Linked DNA regions of Homo sapiens: all the other regions are linked to region 1. Evidence: promoter capture Hi-C in 16 types of primary human blood cells and fetal thymus (Javierre and others, 2016). All regions are on one chromosome and are shown on one strand. Each heading gives the region's core, a stretch centred on a gene start or on the middle of the fragment in contact. The rest is flanking DNA. Distances are from core to core; before and after follow the strand shown.

Region 1 (3,798 bases), core at 736-3,235:
ATTTATGTATTTATTTTTTTGGGAGAGTCTCACTCTGTCACCCAGGCTGGAATGCAGTGGTGCAATCTTGGCTCACTGCAACCTCCGCCTCCCAGGTTCAAGCGATTCTCGTGCCTCAGCCTCCTGAGTAGCTGGGATTACAGACATGTGCCACCATGCCCGGCTAATTTTTGTATTTTTTAGTAGAGATGGGGTTTCACCAGGTTGGCCAGGCTGGTCTGGAACTCCTGACCTCAAGTGATCCACCCGCCTTGACCTCCCAAAGTGCAGGGATTACAGTCAAGAGCCACCACACCCAGCCGACTGGCTTATTTTTAAATTAGTGCTTTTCTAAAATTTCTCAATTGGATTTTTTTTTTTTAAAGACAGGTCTCACTCTGTTACCGAGGATGGAGTGCAGCGGCACAATCATAGCTCATTGCAGCCTCAAATTCCTGGGTTCAACTTATCCTCCCACCTCAGCCTCCCGAGTAGCTGGGACCAGCTACTTGGGTGCGCACCACCATGCCCCACTAATTTTTAAATTTTTGTGGAGATGGGGTTTCACTATGTTATCCAAGCTGGTCTTGAAATCCTGGGCTCAAGTCATCCTTCTGCCTTGGCCTCCCAAAGTCCTGGATTACAGGTGTGAGCCACTGCACCCAGCCCGATTAACTTTTAATTAGGAATTTTTTCTCACAGACATGATACTGTAACAATCCAGGCACAATACAAATAACCCCCACCCCTCTAGTCTTTCTAAACAATAAATCTTAATGGCTCCCATATTATTTGCCGAATAGAGTTCAAGAATCAGACTGGCAATCAAAGCTCTCCACATTATCTGTATCCCTATCTCCCACAACACAAATCTTACCCAACAAAACCACAGGTAGGGTCCCCGAAGCATGTGACTCTGCTCTACTCTTCCCCTGGACGAAATGCACGTTTCTCACTTCTTGAACTCATCTAATCCTGCCCTTTCTCAAACTCCTGGATTAGTTGCGCCGCCCATAGGCTCCCGCAGTAGCCCACACAATCCCTTGGCAGAGCAGTTCTCAAGAACATTGGCATGCACTGCTTTCATTATCTTCACCCCTTCAACCCCCAAACACGACAGGGAGCACTTAAATGCATGAACTGTCTCGTACACGGGACTGCCTCCTCCACATCCTCTGAGCCTAGTGCCTGGAGACACTGGGGATGCTTACTAAACGAAGCTTTCCCCCACCATACTCACTTGAATTCTGCTACCATTACTCTACGCTAATAATGCAATTACACTTTTCGATTCAATCTTGCTTTCATGACTCATTTATACCTTCCTCGGCACCTGCTTAATTCATAACAAATGACGAGTAGTTTCTCTCTTTAAAGCTCTAAGAGAAGGAAACTGAAGGATAACCTTGAACATTACACTGTACCTACAAATACGTTCGGGATCTTTCGAGGTACGTTTTGGAGAGGTAAGTCTTCAAGTGATATAAAGCCGTGTGCATTGTGAAGCACATCCCCAGATAAGCCACTTCCTCACTCTCACAGCACCCCGAAACTGTCCAAACTACGGTTCACAATCACTTTTCACTCCAGAATCACGAATACATCTCTTAAGACGCCTCGACTCCAAGTCTCACGAAGGCCAGTACCGCGTCCTGTTTAACATGTTGTGCTCTCCCGCTTACCCACCAAGCCTGTCAGGATCAAGGAGCACATGCATCTGGGGTCATACTGTGACCTCCCAGCCACCTCCCTGGGATTGGCCTCGCCGCGGCAAGGGCGCCGGCGGACGCCGCGCTCACCTGCACCGCGAGGCCGAGACCCTCGTGCACAGCGTAGTTGAAGGACTCCACGTGCGCCCGCGTCAGCTCCTGCAACGCTGCCTTTTGCTGTTCCCGCGGGATTCCATAAGAGGGGTCAGTCAAGTGCTTTAGGCTAGGCCCGCTGGGCAGGTTCCGCCACCGGCTGCCAGGATCCATGTGGCCACCTGCACACCGGACGCCAGTCTCTCGGTACACGCCGGACGCCAGTCTCTCGGTACACGCCGGAAGTAGTGGCCGCAGTCCCGTTTCCGCAGCCTGCTGGGAAATGTAGTTCCCTCTCGTTCCACCCGCCCTAGGCCCTGCGGTTTCGGTTTCTCGGGGTCAACGTAGAACCAAAAACGTCGAGTGAACGGGCCGATTAAGGCCGTGTCCAGCCAGAGCGTGGCGGGCCCTCCCTTTCTCCCATATTCCGCCCCACTCATCTCCCCGCTCGCGAAAGATGCCGCAGGTGGAAACCCGCTCCCCGCCCAGTTGAGCATGTGACCTCTTTGGCTCTCATTGGCTCAGTCAATTAGGATCGGAGGAGAGCGGTCTTCTCAGGCTCTCTTCTGTTTCCCTTCACCTGTTCCCAGTCCCACGCTGATGCCGACCCTGGGGAGTCATCCGGCCAAAGTCGTTGCTTCAACGAAAAAGCGGATGCCGGGCCCCGGGCTGACTCTCTACCCAACTCCTAACTCGCGAGGCTCACCCCTGGGAAGCCAAGGAGTGGTCGGGCCCCGCTAACCTCGTCGCATCTTCCGGACTGGAGGCCTGGGGGAGGCCTGGGGAAGGAGGTGGGAGAGGAGTCGGGCGGTCCCGGATGGAGGGGATGGGGCAGCGGGGCGTCCAACTGGATTTACAGCCTGAATTTCTTTTGCGTTCCTGTGAGCCCCTTACCTCCCCAGAATACTGATTAATCAGGGAATGCCTGCTGGTTTTTCAACTTTATTGTGTTTGTGTTTAACAGCTATATTGCGTTATAACTGGCATACAATAAACCACACATTTAAAGTGTACGCGTTAAGTTTTGACCTATGTATACAACCATGCAGCCATCACCACAATTAAAACAATGAATTAAACCACCACTACCCAGTATCCTCCTGCCCCTGATAGTCCCTCCTTACTGTCAACTTCCCCTTTCCTAGTTCAGCTGGTACTTTTCATTCCTATATCACTTTTTATAAAAAATTCGAGCCGGGAGTCTGTTGCACAGGCTGGTCTTGAACTTCCGGCCTCTAGTGATCCTCTCGCCTTGCCTCCCTAAATGCTGGGATTACAGGCATGAGCCACCGCGCGCGCCCGGCCAACTGAGTAGTTGTAGTTCTTTATATAGCCTATACTAGTCCTTGTCAGATCCATGATTTGCAAATATTTTTCTCCCATTCTGTGGGTTTTTACTTTCTTGCTGGTGTCCTTTGAAGCAAAACGTTTTAATTTTGAAGTGTAGTTTTTTTCTTTTGTTGCCTGTCTTTTTATATCATATCTAAGACATCATTGTGTAATCCAAGGTCATGAGGATTTAAAAAAAAATTTATGGGTACATAATTAGCATATTTATGAGGTATATGAGATGTTTTCATATAGGCATACGATGTAATCATCACAGGAGGGTAGATGGGGTTTCCATCACCTCAAGCATTCATCATTTCTGTCATGAACATTCCAATTGTACTTCCTCAGTTATTTTTGAAGGTACAACAAATTATTGCTGACTGCAGTCACCCTGTTGTGCTATCAAATACTAGATATTTTTCAATCATGGGGATTTTCACCTATATTTTCTACTAAGAGTTTTGTAGTTTCAACTCTTACATTTAAGTCTTTGACTCATTCTGAGCTAATTTTTGTATATGGTGTGAGAAAGGCATATCACTTTATTCCTTTGCATGTGGATATCCAGTTGTCCTAACACCATTTGTTAAAAAGACTATTCTTTCCCTCATCAAATTGTCTTGGCCTCCTTGTCGAAAATCAGTTCACTATAGATGCAAGGGTTTATTTTTGACTCTCAGTTCTA
Region 2 (3,798 bases), core at 1,096-3,595, 490 kb after region 1:
AATGTAAATAATATCCAGCAAGGGAATAGAATCCTGTGCTAATATTGTTATTAACGTAGAATAAGATCGATTTATAGTCCAAAGGCCTTGGCTGCTTTACCAGTCACCAGTAATTATTGAGGACCTACTATACACTAGAGATTGCATGTGCATCTTCCCAGTAAGCAACGTGATCAGTTCTGTTTAGGTCAGAATAACTGTAACAGGACCACAGGGGAACATCCACCAGAGATTTAGGAAGTAAGTGAGGGACAGAAGGAGAGAACAATACATGAAATTTAAGTTCTACAAGAAGAGTTAAGGGCGAGTTACCTGTGGGAGTGAGGGGTAAGTCTGAAATCGTTTTAGTTACGAGAGAACTGGAGGAATGGAAAGATCTTCCAGATGACTGGATGTTGGTGTGAGACGGAGAGTGGCAAAGCTGGGAATATTTAAACAGTACCAAAACATACAGGCATTCCTAAATTAAGTTAGGCAGATGGCACCTTTAGTTAAGAACACTGGAGAGGCAATGATTTTTTGTTTTGTTTTGTTTTTGAGACTGAGTCGCGCTCTGTCGCCCAGGCTGGAGTGCACTGGCGCGAACTCGGCTCACTGCAAGCTCCGCTTTCCTGGTTCACGCCATTCTCCTGCCTCAGCCTCCTGAGTAGCTGGGATTACAGGCGCCAGCCACCACGCCAGGCTAATTTTTTTATATTTTTTAGTAGAGACTGGGTTTCACCGTGTTAGCCAGGATGGTCTCGATCTCTTGACCTCATGATCCGCCTGCCTCGGCCTCCCAAAGTGCTGGGATTACAGGCGTGAGCCACCGCGCCCGGCCCCAATGATGGTTTTTAAGTAAGGATGAGCTGATCAGAAAGATCGTGTTGGTTGTCAAATTGGGAAACAGGAGCATAGGAGAGCCAGGGTGACACCATTTTAAAAATAACTCCATCTTAAAACTAGCAAGGTACATTTCTTGCCAGTCACCACCCATGGTCGTAAGATGTTTACAGTGGCTGGGCACGCCTGTAATCCCAGCACTTTGGGAGGTCAAGGCGGGTGGATAGTTTGAGCTCAGGAGTTTGAGACCAGCCTGGACAACATGGCGAAATCCTGTCTCTACACGAAATACAAAAATTAGCCAGGTGTGGTGGCGTGCCTGTGGTTCTGGCTACTCAAAGAAGCTGAGGCGGGAGGATCACTTGGGCCTGGGAGGCGAAAGTTGCAGTGAGCCCTGCACTCCAGCCTGTGTGACAGAGTCAGAACCTGTCACAAACAAAAAAAAGAAAGAAAGAGAAAGAAAGCAAGAAAAGGAAAAAAAAAAAAGGAAAATGAGGAAGGTTAGAATGAACTATAATGCTGGCTTGCAACTGATGATATCAGTGTGAACTCATTTTTAAAATTTAGTTTTATAAATAGATGTAGATATGTGTGTGTGTGTGTGTGTTTATATTTTCTTGCACTGATTCCCAGGAGGACCTAGAAGCAGCGACACCCCAGTAGCAATAGGTACATCTAGCACCAGATCTTGCTTTATAAATATCATTCTCCACTAAAATAAACCAGGGATCCTTGGAGAAGTGGCTGAGCCCAGGAATGGAATAGAGAAATTCATGATGAACTTGAGAATCTTGTTTTGCCAGAAAGTAAGGAAGTGGGTAAAAAATTATGAGGACACGTCAAAAAGGCATAGGAGCCAGTTTGAAGGAGCTCCCTTCCACTTACCAGATCTGGGACAATTTGGTCACCAAAATGATAGTAGTGGATTGTAACTCATTGACTCAAATAGGAATCCATGAGTCTATACTAACATAAATAAATAAATGATTACATAAATAGGAAAGAAAATCACTTTCTTACAGTTGGAAAACTAATAAATGCAGAAGGAATAACAAATTTAAAATATCACCATTTGGCAACTATCACAATTAAAATTGATTCAGAAAGAATCATCAATTCTATTCTAAAGTTAGTTGGCAAAAGCTTCATGAGGAAATATCTTCCAAAAATTACTTATTAATTACAAAGAGAAAAACAGTAATTATACAGTGGAGATACCTGGCAGACACCAACTTAATGATCAAGGTTAATCCCACAAGGATTGGGACAAACAGACATGATATGTATCATGATTTGATTAACTGAAAAGAAACAGCATGACTTCTGTGATATTCCTGCCAAAAATGCATGCCCAAAATGCAAAAATGCATCTAATCAAGCTATTCAAGGAAATGAGGAAAAAATTCACATACTTAAATCTAATCACAAGGAAACATCAGACAACCCAAATTGAAAGACATTCTACAAAGTAACTAGCTGGTATAATTTACCAAAAAAAAAAAAAAAAAAAAAATATATATATATATATATATATATATATATATATATATATATATGCCAGGTTCTTGAAACAGCTGAGGAAGTTAGAGGTTAAAGGAGACCCAAGAGACATGATAACTAAATGTGACATATAGGCCTAGCAGTCTGGAGCCTACACCAGAAAAATTGTTTTTGCTATTAAAATTCTTTAGACAATTGGTGAAATTTGAACAAGGACTTTAAGAAAATGGTATTGTCAATGTGAATTTCCTGAATGTGAAAATGGCACCGTTATCACACTAAGAGAAGGTCCTCTTTCTAGAGAAAAGCACACTGAAGTATTTAAAGGTAAGCGGGCACCACATCTGAACTTATTCTTTGGTGGTTACAAAAAACTTTTTATATATTATATATATAAGCTTTATATATGTATAACATGTATACCATCTCTATCTATCTATCAAGATAATCTAATAAAACCAATTTGAATGAAGAGTATGCAGGAGTTCTTTGTATTCTTCTTGCAACTTTTCTTTGAGTCTGAAATCATTTCAAAAGAAAAATTTCCAAAACTAAGAAAGAAGGGGGTAATCACTCTGTGGTTCTCCCTGTATATATGTTAATAAAATTTATATGCCTTTCTAAGAAGGAGGAGGAGGAAGGAAGAAGGAAGGGAGTATCTCACACCTCTCACATCCCATATAGGGATCCAACTTGGTGTCCTCCACAGCAGATGGAAAATTTATGATTACTTGGTAAAAATAGATTGATAGTCAACTGATTGCCAGAGTGCTTTACTCATTCTCTTTTGAGTCTTATGGGATTTAGAAAAACAAACAAACAAACAAACAAAACAGCTACCATATAATTTTTAATTTGAAAAATTAAATCCTGGAGCAAACAAAAATTGTCCAAAGAACAAATAAGGAAAAATTTGGCAATAGTTGACTGTAAGCTAGAACTGAAAGGCCCCCATCAATAGACCAGTCCTTCCTCTAGTGGAGTTTATTGCAGCTGTTATAAAACTGAATCACAGTTCAGAGGTTGCTGTGCAGGGAAATGAAAAGGCATTTGAGAACACGAAGTATCATGAGATCCTGAATTCAGTGCTATTAATGAGAGACTTTGGGGTATGGCTAACACCAAAAATGAATAGATGCTATTTTTGCATAAAAAGCTGTACATTTGATTCATTGCTTTTAATTAAAATATTGGATTGTATGAGAAATTTTGAGAGTATCATATAAAGCACCTTTTCCACATACTTCCATTTGCCTTCATTTAACTTTTTCTTCCCTAAATCAAAACTGATTTTAGTTTTGAGTTGAGGCTTATGGATATGTAAACATAAAGGTTGTTTTTCTGATATTTCCTCTTCATGTGCAACTTATATATCACATAAATTGTAGGGACCAGCCCCACAGGGTCAGTGGGTCTCTCCCCGTGTGTGGAGATGAGAGAGTGTAGAAATAAAGACACAAGACAAAGAGATAAAAG
Region 3 (3,798 bases), core at 782-3,281, 460 kb after region 1:
TCAGAGGCCTACTCTGACATTCTTTCCTTGGCTTTCCTTCTCTTCATCTATAATATATCTGTTTCCAAACCACTGTTCAGAAGGGGGCCTCCCACTGCTCTGCTCATAAATACTGGGGAACTCTTAGATCATACTATATTTACAGAGACAGTCAAAACTTACTTGACAGTCCAGTGTTGCTGATGTTTTGGTATTCACTATAAAAAACTGCTTTTTCAAGCATTCCCAAAAAAATAACAGCTGCAATCCAGAACTGGATTCTTAATATATCTTTCCAATAACAGGCAGACCACGTCAGCCAGAGTATGCCATATAATATATAAACAATACACATCACCATGTAAAACTGTAGGAAGAGAAGCAATTTTAGTCAGTTAAGCCTTTTGGTCATTTGAAAGTTGGCACTTCTACATTCAAGTATCCAACCCTTCATTTTCCAGTCACTCTGGAACCAGAAATACAGGATATGTCAAAGCATTAACTACTGAGGAATTACTACCACAAAGCTCTTAGGGTATAAAATTCATTTTTTAAAAAGGAAAAAATGATGAGAAATACTCACAATCATTAGGGGCCAATCTGATGCAGAGATATATCCATGAGGCCCAATCATAGAAAGAGAAACTAGGATAGAGAAGAAGAGAGAGTTAATTAACAGTCAGTCTTAAATCTTTAAATGTAAGTTCATTTCCCAGAAGGCTCCAAGAATACAAACCACACTAACAAATGCTGAATTTGTATGTAGCACATACATGGTATTGGACAATTAGTATTTGTTTGATTATGTAACCTTACCAAGATACCTTTACTGTAAGACCAGAAACTGTAAAACTGCTAGAAGAAAACATAGGGAGAACACTACATAACACTGGTCTGAGCAATGATTTTTTGGATTTGATCCCAAAAGCACGGGCAACAAAAGCAAAAATAGACAAATGGGATTACATCAATATAAAAAGCTTCTTTGCACAAAGGAAACAATTAACAGTAGACATAGACAACTTAGGTACTGGGAGATAAAATTAGCAAGCCATATATCCAAGAAGGAGTTAATATCCAAAATACATAAGCTCAAACAACTCAATAGCAAGAAAACAAAAAACCCAATTAAAAGAATGGGCAGGCCGGGCGTGGTGGCTCACCCCTGTAATCCCAGCACTTTGGGAGGCCAAGGCGGGCGGATTACGAGGTCAGGAGATCGAGACCATCCTGGCTAACACGGTGAAACACCGTCTCTACTAAAAATACAAAAAATTAGCCGGGCGTGGTGGCGAGCACCTGTAGTCCCAGCTACTCGGGAGGCCGAGGCAGGAGAATGGCGTGAACCCAGGAGGTGGAGCTTGCAGTGAGCCGAGATCACGCCACTGCACTCCAGCCTGGGCGACAGAGCAAGACTCCGTCTCAAAAAATAAAAAAAGATAAAAAAAATTAAAAAAAAAAGAATGGGCAAGGGGCTGGGCGTTACAGCTCACACCTGTAATCCCAGCACTTTGGGAGGCCAAGGTGGGCAGATCACTTAAGGTCAGGGGATCGAGACCAGCCTGACCAACATGGTGAAACCCGTCTCTAATAAAAACAGAAAAATTAGCCAGGTGGGGTGGCGTGCACCTATAATCCCAGCTACTTGGGAAGCAGAGGCAGGAGAATCACTTGAACCCAGGAGGTGGAGGTTGCAGTGAGCCGAGATCGTGCCACCGCACTCCAGCCTGGGTGACAGAGCGAACTCCTGTCTCAAAAAAAAAAAAAAAAAAAAAGGCAAGGGACCTAGATGTTTCTCAAAAGAAAACATATAAATGAGCAAAAGATATTAATACATGAAAAATGCTCAACATCACTAGTCATTAGAGAAATGCAAATTAAAACCCCAATATCATTTCACACCTGTCAGAATGGCTTTTATCAAAAAGATGAAAGAGAGTAAGTGCTGATGAAGATGTGGAGAAAAGGGATGCTTTGTGAAAATGTCAATTAGTACAGCCATTATAAAAAACAGTATGGAAGGTCCTCAAAAAACTAAAAACAGAATTACCATATAATCCAGTAATCCCACTTTACTATTTACCCAAAAGATCTAAAATCAGTTTGTCAAAGAGCTGTCTGCACCCCCATGTTCACTGCAGCAGTATGAACAATAGCTAAGTTATGGAATCAAGGTAAGTGTCCATCAACAGATGAATGGATGAAGAAAATGTGTATATATACACAATGAAATACTATTCAGCCTTTAAAAAGAAGAAAATTCTGTCATTTGCAACAACATGGATGGAACTGGAAAACACTGTGCTGAGTGAAATGAGTCAAGCACAGAAAGACAAATACTGCACATTTTCACTTATATGTGGAATCTAAAACAATTGAACTCCTAATACGAGAGCAGAATGGTGGGTACAGAGGCTGGGAGGTAGGAGGCATGGGCAGATGATGGTCCAAGGGTAAAAAAAAATCTCACACAGGAGGAGTAAGTTTTTTCTTTTTTTGAGTTCTATTGCACAGCATGGTGAATAGTTAACAGAGTACTGTATGTTTCAAAATTGCTGAGAGAGTACATTTCAAATGTTCTCACCACAAAAAATGTTAAGCATTTGGGGTGATGAGTATGTTAACTAGTTTGACTTAATTATTCCACACTGTATTTATAGATTATAACATTACTTTGTACCCCATACATTTATGTCATATGTAATTGTCAATTTACAATAAAAAGAAAAAAAGAGATCCCTCTACTTGTATACACGCTATTCTAAAAACCTGTGCCAAATCTGATCATATACAAGAGCACAGTAGTCCCAGCTACCAAACAAGACCTCAGACTGGCCCCCTTGCTAATTTACTCATCTCACCGGGACCTTATCTTCCTTGACGTAACTTGGAATAAATTACCAAACTCACACATCTAGGTTGGGTTTTGTCTGAGATAGCAATAATAAACCATGTGCCGAGTACAGTGCAAAACATGCAGGGCTCAGTGACAGCTCCAGCTACTAATTAGCAGGGGCTCAAAACTGCCCGCTGGTGTCAGGGGAAAAGACACAATGCCTGGGAAAGAAGTGGGCACAAGCCTAGTTCTATGGTCTGAATGTCCTCAAAAATTCATTAAAGCTTCATACCCACTGTGGTGGTATTAAGAGGTGAGGCCTTTTGGGAAGTGATTAAGTCATGAGGGCTCTGTCCTCATGAATAGATTAATGCCTTACAAAAGGCCTGGAGGGAACTAGCTTAGGCCCTTCTTTGCTCTTCTGCCTCCACCCCGTGAGAGCAGAGTGGTTGTCCCCTTTTGTGCTTCCTGCCCTTCTATCCTTTCTGCCATGTGAGAACACATCGTTTAAGGTGCCATCTTGGAAGCAGACACCAGGGACCTAACCAGACACCAAACTTGGTGGCACCTTGATCTTAGACATCGCAGCCTCAAGAACTGTGGGGAAATAAATTTCTGTTCTTTATAAATTACCCAGTGTCAAGTATTCTATTATAGCAGCACAAACAGACTAAGATAGGTGACAGAATGGCATCAGGGTCCCTGCTCCCTCTACTTGGCACAGTCTGGCTCATGATGCCATCTCCAGAAGGAAGCCTTACCTCACACTCTTCCAGAGCAGCCACCTTGCCAGCTTCCCTCCAAGGGCCATGCAGTACAACAGACCGAGCCTCCTCTGCAGCAATGCCTACCTCACCTCATTGGTTTCTGCCAGCTGACTGGCTGAATCAGAGCAGTATCAAATCCCCAGGGCCCTCACATGCTGATTGGCTACTGCTGGCCCCAGCAGACACACCCACTATGGAAAACATCAGCCAAAGTGA
Region 4 (3,798 bases), core at 824-3,323, 440 kb after region 1:
GAATTCCTCAATTTCATCATCAGAATCATCTATTAAGGGCATGAAGGCATATCTATAGCAAAAACAAGGAGTAGTTTTACTAGTATGTTTAAACTTGTTCAATTTTCAGTTTATATCTAAAAGCCATTGTATAAAAAATCTACATTTAAAAAATTTCTTATACTTTAAAATAATGAAAACGTAATTATTTTACTTTCAAATTAGCTAAAATTATCATTAAGAAATTGTGAAACTGGAGCTCTCAAACCCTGTTTGTAAAAGCATAAGTGGGTAAAATCTTTCTGCAAAGCAATTTTGCAATATTTAATGTTGAGGGAAGGGAACTTTCTGCTGTTTCTTTCTCCATGTCAGGTTTACCTCTCTGCCCACCACTTGTCAGTTTATTTCCTAAAAAAAGAAAAGTTGCTAATCTGATTGGTGAAAATAAAGCCCACTGAATGGGCCACATTTCCTAGGGTGATAAGCTCAAAATACTGCTGATGGAGTGTGAATCAAGACAACCTTTCTGGAGGGTCATTTGGCAATAGCCATTAAAGTAAAAATTCATTTACCTTACATTACACTAACAAAAGTTTGCCAAGATGATGTCCAACAGCATTCTGAAAACATTATTGATAATAGCAAAAATCTATTTTTTAAACAAAATGTCTAATAACCAGGGACTGCTTATATAAATTATATTACATTCATGTTATAAAATGCCATAAAACCATTAAAAGTAATGTGGTAGATCTATACATGCTGATATGGAAAGATAGTTGTTTTTTTTGTGGTTTTTTTTTTTTTTTTTTGAGACAGGGTCTGGCTCTGTTGCCCAAGCTGGAGTGCAGTAGCAGCGGCATGATCTCAGTTCACTGCAACCTCCACCTCCTGGGCTCAGGCCATCCTCCCACCTCAGCCTCCCAAGTAGCTGGGAGTACAGGCACATACCACCGCACCTGGCTAATTTTTGTATTTTTTTGTAGAAAGAGGGTTTTGCCTTGTTGCCCAGGCTGGTCTCGAATTCCTGGGCTCAAGTCATACACCCACCTTGGCCTCCCAAAGTGCTAGGATTATAGGCGTGACCTTAAACAGGAAGGTACAGAACAGTATGTGTATGTATATGCGTGTGTGTGTGTATATATATATATATATATATATATATATATGTATTATTGTATAATTTTAAAAAGGACAGGAGAAACACACTGATACAGGTTGAGTAGCCTTTATGCAAAATGCCTGAGACCAGAAGTGTTTTGAGTTTTGGATGTTTTCAGATTTTGGAACATTTGCATTATCCCTACCAGTTGAGCATCCCAAATCTGAAAATCTGAAATTCAAAATGTTCCAATGAGCACTTCCTTTGAGTATCCTGTCCGTGCTCAAAAAGTTTTGGATTTTGTAGCATTCTGGATTGGGATTTGGGATGTTGAATCTGTACATACTTTTTCATTTTTTCCTAAAGGATGGACAAGAACTTAAGTTCTCTCCTTGGGGCAAAGGGATAAAGCAAGGAAGCTGAGGCTTCCTATCACATGCAGTCTCAAGTACAACTTTCTGAACTTGACACTCAAGTCTTTTGTCATTTTGGCCGTACTTCTCCCTTCCAGCTTGATCTCCCTCCAATATGAGTATGTGGTATTAACCAAACTGCATGTCTCACTGGCCTCCAAAGTATCTCATGCCTTTCCCACCACCCCAGAAAATGGACACTCTTTCCCAGTTCAGTCATTCGCTATCCTATTCCTTTCCTCAAGGTGTAATGTAAGCGCTGTCGCTTCAAGAAGTCTTCCTCAACCCTCTTCCATCTTCCCCTGGACTAGTCTATACATCTCTTTTTTCACTGTCTTGCATTTGTTTTGCTTATCTCCCTACTTGACTGTATACTCCTTAAAAGCAACGACTATTCTCCTGGTTTCTATAAACGTGTTCTTGACACTATAGAAGGTGATCAACAAATCCTTGACGACTTGAAATTTCCTATGTTAGGTACCTCTGATTGTTTGCTGATGGTCTCCACAAAAACATGATTACAATAAGGATAAGCGAAAAAAGGAAGCTCCAAAATGCATCGTCAACCCAGCGTTCCATCCAATCCTAAAAGAAGGACAATTCAAGCATGAAACGTTAATTTTCTGATAAGCATATAGGTTTCCCATTCAAATAATGTACAATGACAAGTACTAATGAAATCTTTCCAACCAGTAAGTCTTCCAAATAAACAAGCACATATTTTTTCAAGAAACCTATATTGTTCAAAATGTTTCTAAAGGGTTGTTTAATGTTACAAATATTCCCTGCCATAAAATTTTTGGGTTAACAGAAAGATTTCAAAATCAAAAGATGCAAAACATATACTTAGGATTTCAAATGGCAAATACTAAGGTCAGAAGGCCCAGCCTCTTCTTTTATTAAATTGTCTCTAAGGCAGCAAAAGCTCTGGATTTTCAGAGGGCTTTTTGTGATTATTTATATGGCACTAGAGACTAGCTCCAAATCTCAACAAATCCCCAAAAGAGGACCTTTCATATTCTAAGTCTAAGAATATATCTTCTTCCAACATGAGAACCCATAGAAAACATCACTCGACTCGGGAGGCTGAGGCAGATAATTGCTTCAACCCGGGAGGCGGAGGTTGCAGTGAGCTGAGATCGCACCACTGCGCTCCAGACTGGCTGACGGAGTGAGACTCATCTCAAAAAAAAAAAAGAAAACATCGCTCGAATGCCCATACTGAACACACGATCCTAGAAACATGCCAGTCTTAAGATTTCTAGTCCATCTAGATACAAACCACTCAATTTCATGGTGTGCAGGAAGAAAAGGATTTCCTGTTAGGGTATACAGGAAGAGAATTTATTTTCAAAATATATAAAAAAAACTTGACAAAAGGGCATAATAGGAAAAGGAGATTTCGGAGGAACTTTTTCAGACTCACTTGGAGGAGTTAAAAGTTTTTTTTTTTTTTTTTTTTTTTTTGAGATGGAGTCTCGCTGTGTTGCCCAGGCTGGGGTGCAGTGGTGCAATCTCAGCTCACTGCAAGCTCCACCTCCTGGGTTCACACCAGTCTCCTGCCTCAGCCTCCCCAGTAGCTGGGACTACAGGCACCCGCTAATTTTTTGTATTTTTAGTAGAGACGGGGTTTCACTGTGTTAGCCAGGATGGTCTCGATCTCCTGACCTCGTGATCCGCCTGCCTCGGCCTCCCAGAGTGCTGAGATTACAGGCGTGAGCCACCGCGCCCAGCCAAAAGTTTTTATAACTCTGTAAAAAATAGTTCAAAGTAAAAACATAAATCTCCATTAAAATCACCTCTATTTGCAAGCATAAACTAAATTGTTCAAAATTCTACAAAATAGTATAAATAAAAATAACTGTTTAAATAGGAAGGTTATACTTACTGATTGGCATTTTGCAATTCTAAATGTCTTAGTTGTCCACCCCATAAACACTATAGAAGCTGAAACACACAAAAAGTCACCTTTGAAGGAATATAACAATACTAAGATAATTTACTGTAAGAAAAATTAAATAGCTTACCCAGCACAGCAAAGATCAGAGTATTTTTAAAATGTCTATATAATGAAAATTTCACAGTGTTCTTTCTTAGCCTTAGGGTCTTCATAGTTTGTGCCAAACTAATAAAAATGTGAAAAAAGTTAAGGAAAAACATTCCAAGTAATAATAAGAGGTTAAAAAAAAAAAACAGAATCTTCTACTATGTTCCCAAAGTCAGTACTGCTAAATACAGTTCCTAAAATTTGAAGCTAATGAAAACACAGAAAATGTTATCTTGGCCAATATTGTACAATCATTA
Region 5 (3,798 bases), core at 424-2,923, 420 kb after region 1:
CCTGCTCAGATCTGCTCTTGAGCACCCTCTAATAAATGTTTTGTCTCAGTTATTGTACTTTTCAATATAAGAATTTTCATTTGGTTCATTTTTATCATTGCTATCTCTATTGACATTATTTGGTCAAACATCATTCTCATACTTTTGCATTTATACTTTTTTAGCTCATTGAATACTTACAAAACAGCTTACAGTTTTTGTCTAGTAAGTCAAACATCTGGTCTTTCTCAGGAACATTTTGTTTTGATGCTCTTTTTTTTCTTGTGAGAGATACACTGTCATTTCTTTGCTTATGTCATAATTTTTTGGTAAATACTAGACATTTTAAATAATATAATGTGGTAACTCTGAAAACCAGTTCCTTCCCCTTCAATGGTTTGCTGTTGTTACTACTTGTTGTAGTAGTTGTTTAGTGAGTTCTCTAAACTAATTCCGTAAAGTCTGTATATTTTGTGATATGTGGTCACTGAAGTCTCTACTCAGTTATGTAATGGTTAGACAATTATTGGACAGAGACTTTCTTAACCTCTCGGAACCAGTAAATCTCCCAGTCTTTGCCGAGGTGCTTGTGTGTATGGTGGGGCACACCTTCAGCACTCATTCAGGCAGTTTACAACTAACTCTGCCTTAGCCTTCACTTCTTGTTTGTGGTCTTTGCTGAGCATGCAGAGCCCTATGCATGCATGTGACCTTTTAGATTCCTGTAAGTATGTTGAAGGTTTTTCAAAGGCCTTATGGTCATCTCATTCTTTAGACTTTCCTTTTAAGGTTTTTGGTCAGTCTGTTGTTTGCTTTGAATGTTATTTTTTGCTTTAGGCAGCTGTGACATTAAAAAACATGCCTGTGAATATTTTTAATAAGTATCCCCTGGAAAGAGGCATTTAGCACTGGGAAAGCTGTGACTCAGGTCAAATAAAGACAAGCCTTTCCAGCAGACTCCACTGAACCCCAAGAAAATCTCCACTTATCAAATGAAGAAACAGAGAACTGGAATTATGACCATGTAGAAACAAGAATTTGGAAGCTGAAAAGACAATGAAGTCATATGAAATGACGTAGCAAGTGGTCACCAAAGTATATAAAATGTATTTCAAGTTTTGATGCCCAGTCCAACCCTTCTGTGGCATCTCTTTCCCCCTGACAATAAGGACCAGAGGTGAGAAAAACAAACTAGGAGGCAGTCTTCAACCCTGGTCTGAGGGAACTGTAGCCAGTGACACTTTCCTGGTCCTCCATTTCCTCATTTGTAAGATGATCTTAGAGGCTCTTTCCAGCTTTAAAGTTTTAAAATATACCAAAATAACTGTTTTTCCAGGGCAGTGCTGTGTGAATTATTTTTAAGTTTTTTTCTTCATCCCCAAATTTGTTTAGTGGCATTTGGTAAGTAAATTTATAAAATCTGTAAAGGGAAGAATTAGAGAAAAGAAAAAAAGATTAGAACTCTTCAAGAGACATTACTTTGGCACCACCTGCTGGATAGCTTTCACATTTTTTCCTGTGCATAAACTTCCATTGCAGCTTCTTGTTTTTTCAAAATGATTTTAAGGAAATACTGTCAAAATTATTTACATCTGAAATCAGATATAAATCAGGTCAGCCTCTGACCAGATGTAAATATCAGGTCACCTCTGTTAATGTAGCTGTACATTCCCTATCACTTAAGGGGCATAAAACTTGCTCTGGGTAACTTCATCTTAATACAAGTGAATCAATCCTGGAATGTGTTTGAATTTCATATGCCATTTGTTTCAATTGAGTCTCAGTCACCCCTCAATCATTGCTGTACCTTTCACATTAACCTTAGCTGCCTCCTGAAGGCTATGCACCAGGCACTTTAGATACATTGTCTTACTTAACCTTCTCTAACAAGCAAACAGCACTTTGTTAACCGAAACTCCTCTCTCCTCAGGACTTCGAGGACAACCCTTCTAGGATGATTCCCACCAGTATTATACCAGCCTTGCCACCTGCCAGGATGGTAAACTATCAAATTATTTAACCTCTCTCTCAGTTTTCTAATCTATGAACCAAGGGAACTAATACTTCATTGGCTACTGTGAGAATACAGTGGTTACCAAAGCCTGGCACTCTGCAAGTGCTCCCAAGTCTGCCAAAATGGTCATCAGTCTTATGACAACAGCCCTTCCTTTCCCTCTGGGACTATCCATCTTGTCCCTCTCACTCCTCACATGTCAAAGGTGGGAGAATGTCCATGAAGAAAATTCTCCATGTCCCATCTACTTACAGCAAGATGGATTTTTTAAATTAATTAAGATTAAGCTGTGAACCAAGACACACTTTTCTAGATTTTCTGATACATAGTCTAAGGCACTATTATTATTATTATTATTATTATTATTATTATTATTATTGAGAGTCTCGCTCTGTCGCCCAGGCTGGAGTGCAGTGGCACAATCTCGGCTCACTGCAAGCTCCGCCTCCCAGATTCACGCCATTCTCCTGCCTTAGCCTCCCGAGTAGCTGGGACTACAGGTGCCTGCCACCATGCCCAGCTAATTTTTTTCTATCTTTAGTAGAGATGCGGTTTCACTGTGTTAGCCAGAATGGTATCGATCTCCTGACCTCGTGACCCACCCATCTCGGCCTCCCAAAGTGCTGGGATTACAGGTGTGAGCCACTGCGCCTGGCCAAGGCACTATTATTTTTACATATTTATGTTGAATATGTTTCTTAGAAAATTAGGGGTAAAAATTAGGCCCTAGGGTATGGTGGGTCCGCAAGATGGAAATAAACCCCGGGTGTCTGAGGGACATGTGGAGGAGGGTGGCCCTTCCCACCTCTATACCTACTGAAGAATTGTCACATGAGCAAGAAATAAACTTTTTGTCTTAAGTTTCTGAAAGGCTAAAATCAAGTTGTGACCACAGCCTGGCTGAGCCTCAACACTAACCATGTATGCCACCCCAGTGCTTTTCCACTCAATCCTTTCTCTACTTTTTTTTTTTTTTTTTTTTTGAGACGGAGTCTCGCTCTGTCGCCCAGGCTGGAGTGCAGTGGCCCAATCTCAGCTCACTGCAAGCTCTGCCTCCCGGGTTCACGCCATTCTCCTGCCTCAGCCTCCCGAGTAGCTGGGACTACAGGCGCCCGCCACCACGCCCGGCTAATTTTTTGTATTTTTTTTTTAGTAGAGACAGGGTTTCACCATGTTGGCCAGGATGGTCTCGATCTCCTGACCTTGTGATCCACCCACCTTGGCCTCCCAAAGTGCTGGGATTACAGGCGTGAGCCACTACGCCCGGCCTTTTTTTTTTTAAATTATCTTTATTTCAAAATAATAATTAATTATGTAATTATTTATGTAATTAAGAATTATGTAATTACTTAATTCTGTAACTTTACAGAAAAGTTGGAAGATAGAATGCATTTTTTCTGAACCATGAGAGTAAGTTGCTCTACCTTATTTTTACATAGATAAGCATTCACATATGTGCCACTGCATCACAGTTCTTATAAGTATTTTTATTATAAATTCTTCATAATTTAATGGCTATACAATATCTCATAAAGTAGCTGGTTAAACCATAATTCACTTAACTATGATATTGTTTGTCTCTAATTTTATTTCTACTTTAATATTATAATAAACACTTTTGTGGAGAAACTTTATTCTGTATTTTGAATCATTTTTTAAAATATCACCAGAATTGACATTATTCAAAGGTTATAAACACATTGTTGAACTTTTCACAAAAAAGGAAATCAACTATATTACCATCATTAATAAGTGTGCTCATTTCATCAGACTTTGAAAGCAAAAGGATTTTACAAATATACCAT
Region 6 (3,798 bases), core at 362-2,861, 400 kb after region 1:
AGGGACGCTGGCCTGGAGAGAGGCGGGAGGGACACTGGCGTGGAGAGAGGCGGGAGGGACACTGGCATGGAGAGAGGCGCGCGGGACAGGGGAGAGAGGCGGGAGGGACACTGGCCTGGAGAGAGGCGGGAGGGACACTGGCGTGGAGAGAGGCGGGAGGGACACTGGCCTGGAGAGAGGCGGGAGGGACACTGGCCTGGAGAGAGGCGGGAGGGACACTGGCGTGGAGAGAGGCGGGAGGGACACTGACCTGGAGAGAGGCGGGAGGGACACTGGCGTGGAGAGAGGCGGGAGGGACGCTGGCCTGGAGAGAGGCGGGAGGGACGCTGACCTGGAGAGAGGCGGGAGGGACGCTGGCCTGGAGAGAGGCGGGAGGGACACTAGCCTGGAGAGAGGCGGGAGGGACACTGGCGTGGAGAGAGGCGGGAGGGACGCTGGCCTGGAGAGAGGCGGGAGGGACGCTGACCTGGAGAGAGGCGGGAGGGACGCTGGCCTGGAGAGAGGCGGGAGGGACACTAGCCTGGAGAGAGGCGGGAGGGACACTGACCTGGAGAGAGGCGTGAGGGACACTGGCCTGGAGAGAGGCGGGAGGGACACTGGCCTGGAGAGAGGCGGGAGGGACACTGACCTGGAGAGAGGCGGGAGGGACACTGGCGTGGAGAGAGGCGGGAGGGACGCTGGCCTGGAGAGAGGCGGGAGGGACGCTGACCTGGAGAGAGGCGGGAGGGACGCTGGCCTGGAGAGAGGCGGGAGGGACACTGACCTGGAGAGAGGCGTGAAGGACACTGGCCTGGAGAGAGGCGGGAGGGACACTGGCCTGGAGAGAGGCGGGAGGGACACTGGCGTGGAGAGAGGCGGGAGGGACACTGGCTGGCCTGGAGAGAGGCGGGAGGGACACTGGCCTGGAGAGAGGCGGGAGGGACGCTGACCTGGAGAGAGGCGGGAGGGACGCTGGCCTGGAGAGAGGCGGGAGGGACGCTGACCTGGAGAGAGGCGGGAGGGACGCTGGCCTGGAGAGAGGCGGGAGGGACGCTGGCCTGGAGAGAGGCGGGAGGGACACTGGCGTGGAGAGAGGCGCGCGGGACAGGGGACAGAGGCGGGAGGGACACTGACCTGGAGAGAGGCGGGAGGGACAGGGGAGAGAGGCGGGAGGGACAGGGGAGAGAGGCGGGAGGGACGCTGGCCTGGAGAGAGGCGGGAGGGACACTGGCCTGGAGAGAGGCGGGAGGGACACTGGCCTGGAGAGAGGCGGGAGGGACACTGACCTGGGAAGCCCGCGGCTCGGGGCAGGCGAGGATCAGGAGCAGAAGGAAGAGCGCGCGCGGAGAGCTGGGCACCATCTTGCCAGTCGGAATCCCGCTGCCTGGGAGGGGAAATAACTTTGCCTCCGCTGCCGAGTTTGTCCCAGCGATGCGGCAGCCGTCCCTGCAGGGTGCGGGGCGCCGCGCGGCCGGGGGGCGGCTGGGGCAGGGGGGGAGGCGGGAGGCCCCGAGCGCAGCGCGTCCCGCGGGGATCGGCGCCGCCCGGGCCTTGCGAGGGTCCAGGTGCGCCCGCAGCTGCCCGCACGAGACAGTCCGCGCGAGGCGGGGAGGCGCCGGCCCCTGGGCTAAGGACGAGGGAGGAGGGGCTGCCCGGCCGGGAATGCGCCCGGGAGCGCGCCCAACCCGCGACGCCGAGGACGAGCGCGGGCATCCTCGGGGCCTGGCAGGGATGGGCGGCCAGTGCCCCGCATATGTGCGGGTGACTGGAAGCCCACCCTGGGCGGGTTCACTCCCGACCGTCCTATTTCCCAACCAAGTAGACTGAGGCTCAGTCACCAAGGACAAGTGGCAGAACAGAAACCCAAACCCAGGTCTGTCCTACTTCAAAGCCCACGCGACACCCTCCTCCCGACATTCCTAGAAGGGGGCCAGGAAATGGGCTTCATAAGCTTGACGTGGGGTGGACTGAGCTCTCCATCCGAATAAACTAGTGTCCCTTTAAATAATGCAATGGGGCCGTGAGAACACGCACGCACAGTGAGTAGATACACACACAGTGATACAGTGAGGGGATCTACGTCCTTCTGATTCACTGTCCTCCTTGCTCAAGGGAAGGAGAAACTCAGTTTAAATCGGAGGTCAGGTTCTAGAACATTGCCTGCCTTGCTGAAGTCGAATCAGGAAGTGCCAGGCCGGCATGAGCAGTCTGAAGTCCCCTGCCATCAGGGCTGTGGTACAACCAGATGCCTCAGACCTGAGCTCCCGGAAGGCATGACTGACGTTCTTCCTGGAAGGTTTTCTGAAGGCAGTCACTGCAGATGTCCTGGGACACACAAGTCTGGTCAAGCCCCAGATCTCTTTTTCCTCTTCCACATTTCACTTTGTTGAGCCCACTCAGAGCTCAGGGAACGGGGAGCCCACAAGACTGTGACCACAGAGCAGGAGCTGTTTCCCAGCAGAGGCCAGAAAGGAAAGCTGGAGTCCTGGCTTAGTCCCTTCAAACTGCTATAGCAAAATACCATAAACTGAGTGGCTTATAAACAATAGAACGTGTTTCTCACAGTTCTGGAGACTGGGAGGTCCAAGATCAAGGTGTCAATAGATTAGGTGTTTGGCGAGGGCCAGAGTTCTGGTTCCCGTGTCCTCACAGGGGAAAGGCAGCTCTCTGGGGCCTCTTTTCTGAGGGCACTAATCCCAATTTTGAGGGCTCTGCACTCATGACCTAGTCACCTCCCAAAGGTCCCACCTCCTAATGCCATCATCTTGGGAATGAGGTTTCCAACATATAAATTTAGGGGAGACACCAACATTCAGAACCTAGCCAGTGCCCCAAAAAGCAGGGGACATGGTTTAGGCTGGCCTCCTGGGCATTGGTTGCCCAGGAAATCCTACAGTGCTGCTCCCCCAACCTTCCCATGCAAAGGAGGTGGAACGGGACCCATGTAAATCTTTTTTTTCTTTGAGACGGCGTCTTGCTCTGTTGCCTAGGCTGGAGTGCAGTGGCCTGATCTCAGCTCACTGCAGCCTTGCCTCCCTGGTTCAAGTAATTCTCCTGCCTCAGCCTCCCAAGCAGCTGGGGCTACAGGCATGCACCACCACGCCTAGCTAATTTTTGTATTTTTAGTAGAGACAGGTTTTCACCATGTTGGCCAGGCTTGTCTTGAACTCCTGACCTCAAATGACCCACCCGCCTCAGCCTCCCAAAGTGCTGGGATTATAGGTGTGAGCCACTGCAGCCTGCAAGGGATCCATGTAATTTTATTTTGCATTCCTGGTTGAACATCCTGAAGAGAGACATGGTCATACCCCTGCTTCTCCCTATCCAGGTGGAGAGGACGGGACAGCATGGCCCGATCCAGGGCAGCCTGTGGAGATGGTGGTTTTCTGCCTCGATCTCTCATGTGTTTGCTGTCTGTACCAAAAGCCAGTGCCCTGCTCCCTCTCTGTCTCTCTGTCCTCTGCCCTATCCTTGAAAAGCTTCCTCCTGGTCAGTGTGGCTGCATTTATTAATATTTTGTGTCCTATCCCACCTTGTGTTTACATGGCGACCTTCTCTGGAAGGCCAGCTGTTCTGGCTCTCAGCCTTGTTCTGGCTATGCGCTGGTAACCAGACATCGGGCAGATGTAAGCAAGCCTTCTTTTCTCTTCTCCTGCCCTTTCTGTGGAGTCATAAAGCTGGAAGAGATTCTTGATTTCACAGATGAAGAAGCTGAATCGGGGCATGGTTGACTGACTTGCCCAAGGAATGCAAACTCTGGTCTCAAGATCCCCCTCCCAGAGCGGTGCTGTTTCTAGGACAGACTACCTTTGACTTTAT
Region 7 (3,798 bases), core at 372-2,871, 300 kb after region 1:
CTAATTTTTGTGTTTTTTGTAGAGAAAAAATATACATGGGGTTTCGCCATGTTGCCCAGGCTGGTCTCGAACTCCTGGGGTCAAGCGATCTGACCGCCTCGGCCTCCCAAAGTGCTGGGATTACAGGCCTGAGCGACTGTGCCCGGCTGAATTTTCCTTTTTTATAAGGAAATCAGTCACTGGACTAGGGCCCACCCTAATGACCTAATCTTAATTAATTACACTTGCAATGACCCTATTTCCAAAAAAGGTCACATTCTGAGGTATTAGGGGTTAGTAGTTCATTATAAGAATTTTGGGAGGGTGCAGTTCAACCCATAACAAAGGTAATGTATATTCCTATCTTGCCCTTCTTTTCTGTTTTTGAACATGGAGAAACGCCATCTCTACTAAAAATACAAAATTAGCCAAGCATGGTGGCAGGCACCTGTAATCCCAGCTACTCAGGGAGCTGAGGCAGGAGAATCGCTTAAACCCGGGAGGCAGAGGTTGCGGTGAGCCGATATCATGCCATTGCACTCCAGCCTGGGCAACAAGAGCAAAATTCCATCTCAAAAAAAAAATGAGTTTTAACACACTATAGAAGAATGGGTTAAATTGTCACTGAGACTTATAAGACAGAAATAGACTTTAATAGTGTATCTTTTACTTAGCTTTCTTGCTTGCTTGCTTTTTCTTTTTCTTTCTTTCTTTTTTTCCTTTTCTTTTTCTTTTTCTTTCTTTTCTTTCTTTCTTTCTTTTCTTTCTGTCTCTGTTGCCCAGGCTGGAGTGTGGTAGCATGATCTTGGCTCACTGCAACCTCCTTCTCCTGGGTTCGAGCAGTTTTCCCACCTCAGCCTCCCGAGTAGCTGGGACTACAGGCACACGCCACCACACCTGGCTAATTGTTGTATTTTTAGCAGAGACAGGGTTTCATCATGTTGCCCAGGCTGGTCTCAAACTCCAGAGCTCAAGTGATCTGCCAGCCTCGGCCTCCCGAAGTGCTAGGATTATAGGTGTGAGCCACCATGCCCAGCCTCCTTAGTTTTATAAAAGAATACAGGACAGATGATAAAGCAGGTACAGTATCTTCATCTTCTTGGAAGCCTCTCAGCTACCCAAGTAAGCAACTTCTTTTCCCCTTTGGGGCCTATGTGGCTTCCAAAGATGAGAGCCAAGGTTGACGACAAGAAATTGCAACTTCAACTTCCCACAAGTTTTTTATACTGCTTGAGTCACATAGGCCTCAGTCTTTTATGCCCACTTTTAGCTCCTCCAGACTTCGTATTATATATTATAACCTTCCACAGCAGACAGGCAGAAACAACATTCTACAACTGTCTTACATAGTTTCTGCAAAACAGTACTGTGAGAAGATGGACTCCTAGGTTATTCTCAACCAGGCTTGCTTCAGTGCAGCCTCTTCACTCACAAGTATGTAAAAGGTGAATACATTATCAAATAAATATCACAGCTAATTAATTAATTAACTTATTTATTTTTGAGACAGAGTCTCACTCTGTTGCACAGGCTGCAGTAAAGTGGCAAAATCTTGGCTCACTGCAACCTCCACCTCCCAGGTTCAAGCAATTCTCCTGCCTCAGCCTCCCGAGTAGTTGGGAATACAGGTGCCTGTCACCCACCTTGCCTGGCTAATTTTTGTATTTTTAGTAGAGATGGGTTTTTGCCATGTTGGCCAGGCTGGTCTCGAACTCCTGAGCTCAAGTGATTGGCCCGCCTCAGCCTCCCAAACTGCTGGGATTACAGGTGTGAGCCACCATGGCTGGCTATAGCTTATTTAAAAGAGAATACCCAGGTAAACACTTTGCAAGTTAAGAAAGAGCATTACCTCAGATTTTGAGGGTTTGATTTCATACCACCACAATAAAACAAATATTGCAGTAAAGCTAGGCACAAGAATGTTTTGGTTTCCCAGTGCATATAAAAGTTACATTTATACTATACAGTACTCTGTTAGGTGTCCAATACCATTATATTTTAGAAAACAGTATATATCTTAATTAAAAATTCTTTGTTGCTAAAAAATGTTAACAGTCAGCGAGTCATCTTTTTGATGGCAGAGGGTCTTGCCTCAGTGTTGATAGCTGCTGAGGGTGGTGACTGCTAAACACTGAGGTGGCTCTGGCAATTTCTTAAAATAGGACAGCAGTAAAGTTTGTCACCTCAATTGACTTCTCCTTTTACAAAATATTTCTCTGTAGTATGTGATGCTGTTTGATAGCATTTTACCCACAGTAAAAATTTCAAAATTGGAGTCAATCCTCTCAACCCCTGCCACTGCTTTATCAACTAGGTTTATATAATATTCTAAATCTGTTGTCATTTCAACAATGTTCATAGCATCTTCACCAGAAATAGATTGCATCTCAAGAAACCACATTGTTCACTTGTAAGAAGCAGCTCCTCATCTGTTCAAGTTTGATCATGAAGTTGCAGCAATTCAGTCACGTCTTCATTCTCCACTTCTAATTCTAGTTCTCTTGCTTTTCCACCACACCTGCAATTACTTCGTCTACTGAAGTCTTGAACTCCTCAAAGTCATCCCTGAGGGTTGCAATCACCTTCTTTCAAACTCCTGTTATTGTTGATATTTGACCTTCTGCCATGAATCACGAATGTTCTTAATGTCAGCTAAAATGGTGAATCCTTTCTAGGTTTTCAATTTACTCTGCCCAGATCCATCAGAGAAATCACTTTCTATGGCTACTATAACCTTAAAAAGTGTATTTTGTATTTATTTCTTAAATAAGACTTGAAAGTCAATTATTCCGTGATCCATAAGCTGCAGAATGGTTGTTGTGTTTGTGGACATGAAAACATTCATCTCCATCAGAGCTCTTGGGTGACTGGGTGCATTGTCAATGAGCAGTAGTATTTTGAAAAGGATATTTTTTCTGAGCAGTAGGTCTCAACAGTGGGCTTAAAATAGTCAGTAAACCATGCTGTAAACAGATATACTGCCATCTGGGCTCTGTTGCTCCATATATAGAGCACAGGCAGAGTATATTTAGCATAATTCTTAAGGGCCCTAGAATTTTCAGACTGGTAAATGAGCATTGGTTTCAACTTAAAGTCACCAGCTGCATTAGCTCCTAACAAGAGTTAGCCTATCTTTTTGAAGCCTTTTAAAGTATTTTATTTGTATAAATTTACGGGGTGCAAGTGCAATTTTGTTACATGCATAGATTGTAGTGGTGAAGTCAGGGTATTCTTTGAAGTGAGGTATTGACTTCTCTCTAGTTATGAAAGTCCCAAGTGGCATCTTTTTCCAACATAAGGCTGTTTCATTTACATTGAAAATCTGTTGTTTAGTGTGGCCACCTTCATCAATGATCTTAGCTAGATCTTCTGGATAATTTGCAGCTTTTACATCAGCACTTGTTGCTTCATCATGCACATTGCTTTTTGAGATGGAGTCTTGCTCTGTCACCCAGGCTGGAGTGCATTGGCATTACCTTGGCTCACTGCATCGTCTGCCTCCTGGGTTCAAGCGATTCTCCTGCTTCAGCCTCCTGAGTAGCTGGGACTACGGGTGTGCACCATCACACCCAGTTAATTTTTGTATTTTTAGTAGAGACGGGGTTTCACTATGTTGGCTAGGCTGGTCTTGAACCCCTGGCCTCAAGTGATCTGCCCGCCTCGGCCTCCCAAAGTGCTGGGATTATAAGCGTGAGCCACCGCGCCTGGCCTGTCATGCACTTTTTATGTGATGGAGACATCGTCTATCCATAAACCTCAAGAACCAACCTCTGCTAACTTCAGACTTTCCTTCTGCAGCTTCCTCACCTTTTTCCACCT

What was found. The method cuts DNA at HindIII sites, captures the fragments that hold promoters and counts their contacts. A CHiCAGO score of 5 or more calls a contact.
Region 2: a fragment that was not itself captured here is called in contact with the fragment with the promoter of POLR1B in region 1 in 9 of 17 cell types (fetal thymus, total B cells, activated CD4 T cells and 6 more); the score reaches 10.8 in fetal thymus.
Region 3: a contact is called between a fragment that was not itself captured here and the fragment with the promoter of POLR1B in region 1, in 3 of 17 cell types (M2 macrophages, megakaryocytes and naive CD8 T cells). The highest score is 5.4, in M2 macrophages.
Region 4: a contact is called between a fragment that was not itself captured here and the fragment with the promoter of POLR1B in region 1, in 1 of 17 cell types (naive CD4 T cells). The highest score is 5.2, in naive CD4 T cells.
Region 5: a contact is called between a fragment that was not itself captured here and the fragment with the promoter of POLR1B in region 1, in 6 of 17 cell types (fetal thymus, total CD4 T cells, erythroblasts and 3 more). The highest score is 6.7, in fetal thymus.
Region 6: the fragment with the promoter of FBLN7 here is called in contact with the fragment with the promoter of POLR1B in region 1 in 2 of 17 cell types (non-activated CD4 T cells and fetal thymus); the score reaches 5.8 in non-activated CD4 T cells.
Region 7: a contact is called between a fragment that was not itself captured here and the fragment with the promoter of POLR1B in region 1, in 2 of 17 cell types (fetal thymus and total B cells). The highest score is 5.4, in fetal thymus.

Annotation. Positions count from the first base shown.
Region 1 is chr2:112,540,652-112,544,449 of GRCh38, reverse strand. It overlaps POLR1B (RNA polymerase I subunit B), which reads right to left and starts at 1,985. Exons shown (of 15, transcript NM_019014.6): 1 at 1,779-1,985. The coding sequence starts at 1,955. TTL (tubulin tyrosine ligase) reads right to left here. Exons shown (of 7, transcript NM_153712.5): 7 at 2,711-3,798. It overlaps LOC105373562 (a long non-coding RNA gene), which reads left to right and starts at 2,238. Exons shown (of 2, transcript NR_136321.1): 1 at 2,238-2,247; 2 at 2,372-2,794. RefSeq lists an enhancer at 1,953-2,102. The HindIII fragment of the contact is 8,470 bases long and covers 1,202-3,798 here.
Region 2 is chr2:112,050,046-112,053,843 of GRCh38, reverse strand. No RefSeq gene overlaps it. Among named protein-coding and RNA genes, the nearest start is that of TMEM87B, 3.3 kb to the left of the region's middle. The HindIII fragment of the contact is 755 bases long and covers 1,968-2,722 here.
Region 3 is chr2:112,077,883-112,081,680 of GRCh38, reverse strand. TMEM87B (transmembrane protein 87B) reads right to left here. Exons shown (of 19, transcript NM_032824.3): 7 at 563-624; 8 at 163-346. Among named protein-coding and RNA genes, the nearest start is that of TMEM87B, 25 kb to the right of the region's middle. The HindIII fragment of the contact is 2,140 bases long and covers 962-3,101 here.
Region 4 is chr2:112,096,876-112,100,673 of GRCh38, reverse strand. TMEM87B (transmembrane protein 87B) reads right to left here. Exons shown (of 19, transcript NM_032824.3): 12 at 3,522-3,630; 13 at 3,383-3,441; 14 at 1,976-2,079; 15 at 1-52. Among named protein-coding and RNA genes, the nearest start is that of FBLN7, 40 kb to the left of the region's middle. The HindIII fragment of the contact is 5,541 bases long and covers 1-3,798 here.
Region 5 is chr2:112,119,533-112,123,330 of GRCh38, reverse strand. No RefSeq gene overlaps it. Among named protein-coding and RNA genes, the nearest start is that of FBLN7, 17 kb to the left of the region's middle. The HindIII fragment of the contact is 9,145 bases long and covers 1-3,798 here.
Region 6 is chr2:112,136,198-112,139,995 of GRCh38, reverse strand. It overlaps FBLN7 (fibulin 7), which reads right to left and starts at 1,611. Exons shown (of 8, transcript NM_153214.3): 1 at 1,266-1,611. The coding sequence starts at 1,340. The HindIII fragment of the contact is 8,502 bases long and covers 1-1,932 here.
Region 7 is chr2:112,245,263-112,249,060 of GRCh38, reverse strand. The region is part of intron 2 of ZC3H8 (zinc finger CCCH-type containing 8); the gene reads left to right. Among named protein-coding and RNA genes, the nearest start is that of ZC3H8, 7.9 kb to the left of the region's middle. The HindIII fragment of the contact is 4,896 bases long and covers 1-3,798 here.